3 separate regions of the Homo sapiens genome follow, and regions 2 and 3 are each linked to region 1. The links are contacts of gene promoters, found by promoter capture Hi-C in blood cells and fetal thymus (Javierre and others, 2016). All regions are on one chromosome and are shown on one strand. The core of a region is centred on a gene start or on the middle of the fragment in contact, and the rest is flanking DNA. Distances in the headings are between cores, read along the strand shown.

What was found. The method cuts DNA at HindIII sites, captures the fragments that hold promoters and counts their contacts. A CHiCAGO score of 5 or more calls a contact.
Region 2: a fragment that was not itself captured here is called in contact with the fragment with the promoter of TLX3 in region 1 in 1 of 17 cell types (M0 macrophages); the score reaches 6.6 in M0 macrophages.
Region 3: a fragment that was not itself captured here is called in contact with the fragment with the promoter of TLX3 in region 1 in 1 of 17 cell types (M1 macrophages); the score reaches 5.2 in M1 macrophages.

What each region holds. Positions count from the first base shown.
Region 1 is chr5:171,307,833-171,310,539 of GRCh38, reverse strand. TLX3 (T cell leukemia homeobox 3) reads right to left here and starts at 1,292. Exons shown (of 3, transcript NM_021025.4): 1 at 754-1,292; 2 at 147-390. The coding sequence starts at 1,174. RefSeq lists enhancers at 1-29, 30-914, 915-1,800, 1,801-2,685. The HindIII fragment of the contact is 15,951 bases long and covers 1-2,707 here.
Region 2 is chr5:170,749,952-170,752,651 of GRCh38, reverse strand. The region is part of intron 1 of LOC107986473 (a long non-coding RNA gene); the gene reads left to right. LOC107986474 (a long non-coding RNA gene) reads left to right here and starts at 246. Exons shown (of 2, transcript XR_001742977.2): 1 at 246-529; 2 at 895-1,253. RefSeq lists enhancers at 1-555, 556-1,440. The HindIII fragment of the contact is 3,196 bases long and covers 1-2,700 here.
Region 3 is chr5:170,684,606-170,687,305 of GRCh38, reverse strand. All of the region lies in intron 1 of KCNIP1 (potassium voltage-gated channel interacting protein 1), which reads right to left. Among named protein-coding and RNA genes, the nearest start is that of KCNIP1-AS1, 4.5 kb to the right of the region's middle. The HindIII fragment of the contact is 6,169 bases long and covers 1-2,700 here.

The sequences.
Region 1 (2,707 bases), core at 43-2,542:
CGAAGGCGGGGTGGGGGTGTGTTTGGGGGAGGCAGAGGGGGGCGGGGGTAGTGGATAGCCTTAAAATAGGGCTAGTGCGAGGCTGCGGCTCGGGGCGGGACAGGTGAAGGGCAGGTGTAAGGTGGGCCGGGTCAGGCCTCTCTCACCGCCACTTGGTCCTCCGGTTTTGGAACCAGGTCTTGACCTGCGCGTCCGTCATTTTGAGGGACTTGGCGAGCGCCGCCCTCTCGGCAGAGGCCAGGTACTTCTGGCGATGGAAGCGCTTTTCCAGCTCGCAGATCTGCACCCGGGAAAAGGACGTGCGCGGCTTCTTACGCTTGGGCGGCGTCCGGTTCTGGTAGGGGTGGCCGATGCGCCGGGTCACGGTGAAGGGCGTGAGTGCGGCCGCCGCTGCGGAGACACAGGAGGGCCCCTGAAGCCCAGCCCGGCTCCGCCACCGTTCAGGCCCCATGCGGACCCCGTGGCGCCCCGTGGGACACGGAGAGCTCCGCTATTTCGCTGGTCGCGCGCGTTTCCAGAGACACCAAGCCGGTCGGGAGACCCCCTCGCCCCCTGTCCCTTCCCCCGGGCACGGGCTTATTTTCCTGCAACTCTCCGATTACCCTCCCCACCACGGCTGCCCGGGGCCCTGGGGCCGAGGCCTCCGCCGCGCTTGGGCCTCTGAAATGGTTTCCGGGAGTGGAGCGCACAGGGCGCGGCGCCTCTGGCCCCGAGAGGGCGGAGGCCTGGAGCCTGGTCGCCAGCTCTGCTCACCTGTGAAGCGGTCTTTCACGAAGCGGCGGCTGCTCTCCATCCAGGGGAAATTGAGACCGCCAAGGCTGGAGACCGTGGGCACGGAGGGCATGGCGGGTAGCGCGCTTGGCAGAGGCGGTGGCACGGCCCCGGGCAGCGGCCTGTGCGCCGGCACCCGGATCACGCCTGCGGGCGCTAGGCTCAGGTTCACACTGTAAGATCCCGCGTCCTCGAAGGGCGCGCCGAGGCCCGCAAAGGAGGCGGGCAGAGACGGGTATGTGGCGCCCGGACGGCCCCCGGGGGGCCCTCCCAGGTAGCTGGCGCCGTCGGGGCCCCGCGGGGCGGGTGCGCTGTCCTGGTCCGGGCTGTTAAGGATCTGGTCGATGCCGAAGCTGATGGGCTCGTGCGGGTGCGGGGTCTGCGCGCTGGCGGGCGCCTCCATCCTGGGCGGGCGGAAGGGCTGGGCTGGGCTGGGCGGGGAGGCGGCTGGGTCCCCGTTACGGCGCGGCCATGGAGCGCCCGGCGCCTCTCGTCGCACTGAAACTTTGCCAAGAGTGCGCGGGCCCGACAGGCTCTGTGTCATCTTTCTTGAACCGAACCTGGAGTTTCCGCTGCTAATTCCTCTCCTGCCGCAGCCATTGGCTGCGATCAACAAGCCTCTCTCCTCTCATTGGCTCCCGGCTTTCAATAAAGGCCTAATTCATGGAAATAGGAGCTTAGGGACTGTTCCAAGGTGACATCATTTTAACAAACGAACAATAGGTCAAATTTATTAGCAGGGATAATGGGCGGCGGATATTAGAGCCCGAACCACAGCCTCCCAAACCCGAAATCTAACGAAGCTGCAATTAGCAGACGCTCCCCGCTCCTCCGGGCCGGGCCGCTTCCCAGACACCGCGCTGGGTGGGTAGAGCGCTCCGCTTGTGAAATTGTCTTTTGCTGAGTGGGTTTTCGTTTTCTTCCAATTTTTTTTTTTTTTCATCTGAGCAAAAGCCAAACCAAATGCATCCTTTCAGGTACAATGGAGTTGCAACCCCGGGACGACCCGGCGGAATCCGCAGAAGCCCCTTGGACGCTACCGCCGCCGGAGGAACGAAAGGGGCGCACTACCCGGGGCAGGCTTCGCGCTGCCTGCGCGCGGGGCGAGGGGAGCACCGTAGCGTTCTCCGCGCCCCGGATGACGCCGACCCGCGTGGGGAGAATTCGCCCCCGCCCGGGTTTCGGCCGCGGCCTCGCGGCCACTTTGGAGACACTCCCTGGCTCCGGCCAGGCGGACCGAGGCGTGACTCGCAGGTGCCCACGCGTGCCAGCTGCGGCTGGGCTAGGGACGCGGGGTCGCCCGGTGGGGAGCGGGGACCTGACTCTCGTAATTCGTTGCAGGATGGAAGGGGGCTGTGGTCGCGCGTGGGAACCCGCTCGCGGCTCGGCGGGTCTAGGGACTTCGGGTTCCTGAATGTCAAAGGCGCGGGCAGCTCCTAGAGCAAATTGCGGGATTTCTTTGGGAAACGCGACTGGTGAGCCCTTCCCGGCTCCAGTCCACTTTGGGCGCTGGAACCACTCCCCGTTCTGCTCGCGCCTCAGTGACTGTCTACCCGGCCCAGGGCACCGTGGACAGGACCGCACACGAAGTAGTCACCTTCCGCTGCAGCTTTGGGGAGACAAGCGGAATCATTTTCTTCCAGCGAATTCTAAAATCGTTAGGTGCAAACTCTTTGAGTGTCGCACCCCTGGCCTGGGTTCTTCCTCCCGCTCCTTGTGGTGTGGACAGTGGTGAGAGCTCGGATGTGCTGTTGTTGGCCAGAAGTGTGTTCAAATTTGGACTGGCCATTTCCTCGCTGAGTGACCTTGAGAAATTGACTCTATATATTTAGATTTCGGTTTTCTCGTTTGCAAAAAAGGAAAATAATGCATGCATGCGGGTTGTTCGTGAGCCGCGAGTGAGATATTGAGGGAGCGCAGAGCACTGGGCCTGGCA
Region 2 (2,700 bases), core at 124-2,623, 560 kb after region 1:
GCAGAGGCTGGTCAGCAGCAGGGTCAGGCCCCACGGTGGTGAGAGGCTCTCTCTTGCTAGAGTGGTGCCTGGGGCAGGGCAGCACTGCTGCAGCGGGAGCTTCTAGTGCAGCGGGCTTTGGCCCACATGCCCCCATTTAACAGCTTTGTTTACTTGGGTGGGTCCCCCAAGCAGACGCTCTGGGAAGGCAGCCAGTTCAGGTTTCTTTTTCTTCAGGGAAACCAGACCTGTCTTTGGCTGAAAGTCTCTCTGGTGTGCTGCCAACACCTCCAGGCTGTCTGGGGGGCTGAGTGCCTGAGTGAGAGTTGATGAATGGCCTCAGGTCAGAGACATCTGCCAACGAGTGAGCTGAGGGAGCCTTTTGTTCATTTCCTGGGAACCTGCGGGAAGTTGGGGCAGGGCGCTGCCCACCCAGTGCAGGCTGGGCCCTCAACATTCCCTTCTCCATGAGCCTCACAGGGTCACTTTCTGGGCCTTTACTCAAGCTGCTGGAACTCAGGGAGCCCCTTTACTTGCTTGGGGGTGCATGGTAGGTGTTTGGGGGTGTTCCTTCACAGATTCTTAAAACTCAAGAGGCTCACAGTCTCTCCTCTGTGGAATGTGGGCCTCCTCCTACCCTCAATCTACCTGGGAAGCAGAGTGGGGAGGAAAATGTGGGCCCGTCCCGGGTGTCCTAACTCATCCTCTGTAGAGGGACCCTCCTCCTTGAGTATCTCTCTCACCCAGGGTGTGGCATCCCTTGGTCCCGAGGGTCCTCAGAGGGTTAAAGCGTTGAACAAAAAGAGCCCTTCCAGATGGGCTGTGCCGTAGCAGCTGTCGTGAAGGGCCCCGCCAGCCCCCGTGGGCCTCTGGACACAATCATGACTGTATCTGGCTGTGTCTGACTCCAATCAGATGAGCTTCGACGTGAGGCATGTGGCTTCCTTCCGGCAATGAACTGTCTGGGGTGAATGTGACCCCCACAGATGTCTGTCTGCCTGCCTCCCTCTCACCTGGCATCTCTGGAAGGAATTTCTAATAGCAGCCTGACCCCATGGGTGAGTGTGCTCCTGGGGGTCAGGACGGTGATCTTACAGAACCTAATGAGGGGGCAGGTGGGCACGGGAAACAGCTGGATGCCTGCAAAGATGATCCTGGGATGAGTACCCTATTCTCACTTGGCATAGCAGGCACAGAGGCAGAGCAGCCCTGGTTCACCCAACCCTGCCACAGGCAGCCATGTAAACTTGAATAAATAAATCCCTTTGCCTCAATGAGCCCTTTCTCATCTGTAAAAGGGGATAATATGTTGCTGAGTTGCCGTGGGTCTTAAATGAGAGAATGCATGTGAAATACCTGGAAAATACATAAGAAATATAAGTAGTTATTCCAGAATAACTAATAATAATACTAAATAATATTGACCTTTCCATCCGACACCAGCTTATTCTGAAAGAATAAACAGGTTTACTCAGGGCGCAGTACCTCTGGGCGAGTCCTGAGCCTGTCCCAGCCTTTCCTGGGCCGTTTCTCTGATGTGTCCCCTGGTCTGGCCTCTGTTTGACTCAGCAGGGGACACTGCACTCTGTGTTTCTGACTCCCAGACCTCTCTCTGGGAAGAAGCCCCTCAAGCGTACAGCTCTATCACTAAAGGCTGCAAGCTGCGTTTCCGATTTCTGAGCGAGCACAGCTGGCATCTGCTCTCCTTCTTGAGCCTGTTGGACTCCTCACCCTCTCTACTTAGCTACTTTTGCTTACAATGCTTGAGCATGGACATCTAATCCTTACTGTCTTGTGGCTCAGGAGGCAGAGTAGTAGCATGGTGCTACTAGTGTGCTTTGGACCTAGATGGATGGTTTGGGTTCAAGTGCTGGCTCCATCATCAGCTCACTCCACTGGTGACATGGGGCAAGTGTCTTCACCTCTCTGCCTTAATTTCACCCTTTCTGAGTTGTGGACATGATCATCTTTCCTATCTACTTCAGGGCTATGGGGAAGATGAGATGAGCTATAGACACACAGGACTCAGAACAGAGCAGGGAAGAGGGGAAGAGATTCATGGCTTTTAATTGTTAGCAAGACCTTAAATCCTATGGGTCTGCCTAGAAACCATCTGGGCTCTGGGCAAAGCCTGGGAGAGGGGGTAGACAGCTGTTCTAGTTCCTAGATATGAGAGCTAGAGCTAGGGTGACGGTAGGAGGGAGGAAGAAAATGAACATTTCTCGATGCCTGTTGGGTGTCAGCCTCCTAGGTGTTTGCCCTGTGTTTATTCCCTTCCCTTGGTGAGAACCCTCAAAGGATGGGGCAAAGGATGTGTTTTGACTCTACGGCCAAGGAGGAAGCCGGATAAGGCAGCTGAGACACCTTGCCCAGTCTCAGTTAGCACATCATGAGTCAGGGTTCAATACCAGGTGTGTCTAAAAAGCCCATTCTTCCCTCATTACCATTCACCTCTCCCTATTGGCTGAAACTGTCAGTTCTGAAACAGAAGGGGGACTGTTATTCCAGACCTATTCACTGTCTCCTTGTTTGGACATATTTTAAGAGCCGCCCTAAGCGATTATGTGACAACTTATAAAAACTAAATACAAGTTCCTCATCGCAAACGTTCCAAACTGCCCTGGCAGCTTTCAGGTCAACTTATTAACCTGCTGAGGGTGGTTCTGCCAGCAATCTGTCCCTCTGTTGACCTGGGGACTTGATTGCACATGTCTGTCATTT
Region 3 (2,700 bases), core at 43-2,542, 620 kb after region 1:
AGAGGCTGAGGCAGGAGAATCGCTTGAACCCGGGAGGCGGAGGTTGCAGTGAGCAGAAATCATGCCACTGTACTCTAGCCTGGGCAACAGAGCAAGACTCCATCTCAAAAAAAAAAAAAATTTACTCAGGTTTTTTTACACATAAAATCAAAACAAAATGATTGCCTAAGGAGAAACCGGATTTTTAAGAGTGATTGACGAGCAGCCAGAGTCCAGAGGGCATGGGACATAGGCTAGGTTAATTTTGCTGGAGACAGATTAACAGCAGGGAACTCAGGGGGAGAATGGGGGAGGATCAGCCCCAGTGGACATCCCAGGAGGAGTACCGTGGATCAGGAGAGAGGTTTGGGGCTGGAGAGGGGGAAGAGGAAGGGCACAAAAAGTGCAGGGCAAGGTAGAGAGGAGGAATCTGCAGACGGCTCTGACTTTTTAATCCTTGGATATTGCCTTGAGGGAAATAAAGGAGGATGGCTGCAGTGCTTGCTCATTTCAAGGGCACTGGCTCAGTGGAGTGCTGCATGGAATATACTAAGCACATGGCTGTGTGAGACACCAAACACTTCCTTTCAGAAAACCTCCAGTGCCCAGCCCCAGAGTTTACTGAGGAAGTAACTAGACAGAATGTTCTTTACAGCCAGTTTTCAGACACTCACAGGCCGGGGTCAGCTGTGGGGCTGGCTTTGTCTGGTGGGGATGGTGCTTTGGCCACAACTCAAGTGTAAGGTGGGCTGCTGTGGTCTGCCTTTGCAGTGTAAAGTCTCTGGAGAATGCGGGACAAAAAACAATTGGCAATTTGCAAACTGTTAATTAGCTAAGCAGACTCCTAAAGGCCAATGATTATAGGAAATAACTTACTTGGATACCCAAATGAACCACGGAGAATCAAGTGCTTGCCTCAGAACTGAGTGACTCTCCTTGTTCGCATCTTCCTCTGTTCCTCCCTCCCCCTCTCTCTCATTCTCACCTCTTTCCCTCTTTCTGCCCTGCTATTTCTGACAGTTTCTCTCTTCTCTCATTTATTGTAGCTCTCATCTTCCTATCTTATGTGTGCTCTCCTCCTTTCTCTCTGGAGAGAGAAATATTATGTACCTACAAAGCAGGTTCATTTCATTCCTCTAATAGACTTTGTGTTCATTTTTTAAAATTTAAAAATTAGATGGTGATCCTCCTTATGTCAGTACTAGGAATCTGCTCACTCTGAATGCTAGTATCCTGATAGTACTTTGTCCTGGGGACAAAAGTGGGGATGGGAAGTACAGGCCAGCAACAAGTACTTTCACCTGATCTGTAGAATAAGGGATGGTTTAAAAAAGGGAGAATCTGTTCATGTATTACTTGTGTAATTGAATATAAATAAAAAGGAAATGTCATTAAAAAATCAGATGAGCTGAATATTTTATGTTGTTCTTTCTCTGAAGAAGTTCAAGCCAGCTAAATGCAGTTGCTTTTACTCAAATTGGGCCTTGTTTCCTCCCAGAATCTATGATATGGAATAGAAAAAGTAATTTTAAAGTTTATCGGCTGGGCAGTGGCTCACACCTGTAATCCCAGCACTTTGGGAGGCCGAGGTGGGTGGATCACCTGAGGTCAGGAGTTCGAGGCTAGCCTGGTCAACATGGGGAAGCCATGTCTCAACTAAAAATACAAAAATTAGCCAGGCACGGTGGCACATGCCTGTAATCCCAGCTACTCAGGAGGCTGAGGCAGTAGAATCGCTTAAACCCGGGAGGCAGAGGTTTCAGTGAGCTGAGATCGTGCCACTGTACTTCAGCCTGGGCGACAGAGTGAGACTCGGTCTCAAACAAATAAGTTTATTATGCTTGCTATAATAGACTACAAAATACAAGATATTCTGGTCCTCACATCTAGTGTGCCTTTTGGGCTGGATTTTAGAAGAGACTCTCTCAGCTGCAAGAGTCTGGGTATTAGGTAGGCAGTTGGCAGAGTGGGATCTGGAGTCAGTCTTATTTGTTGATCATAGTTGGGATCTTCAGGCTGTGGCTAAATGGAAGGGTGGTTGGCCTGGGTTTGGGCAACTCTGGATGTCCCTTTGAGATCAGAAGTAATGAGAAGGCTTCTGACCACAGAATGTGTTCTGCTCATTGGAGGATGGAAAGTATTTGATGTCCTTTTGCTGATCATACAAACAGAAAAGTCTTAGGGCCAAATTGGGAACCCACGCAGAGCAGGAGACTGGGTTGTCCTTATGGGCAAGGAGAGGCCAAAGGTTACCATTCCCATTTACCTTGAAGGAGGTATGTTCTGGGAGCATTATAAACCTTGATGGTGTAAAAATGAGAATATGATAAACAGATTAAGTAGACAGAGAGAAGGATGGGAGAAGGAGGAGGAAGTAAAAGTGTTCTTGTCTTCTGATATTTCCAAGAAGGTGAGCAACAGACATTGCTTCAAGTCAACATGTAAGTAATTAAAGGCTGTGTGTCATTTAAAGTGTAACTATATCTGCAGAAGAACTAAAAATAGCCAACCAAATATGAAGGTAGAAAGAGGAAAGAGATAAAAGAGAGAGAGGTTTGTGGCTCAGGTTGCAGAGGAACACATTTACTGGGAGATGCCAGGTCCTTGTGTGGCCAGTGACCAGGGATGAAGGAGGGAAACTCCCGCTGGTGGGAGGTCAAGGCTGCTATTTCTCATCCTCCTTGGAACTGCAGAGAGAAGTTGACCTAAGCCTTTACATTC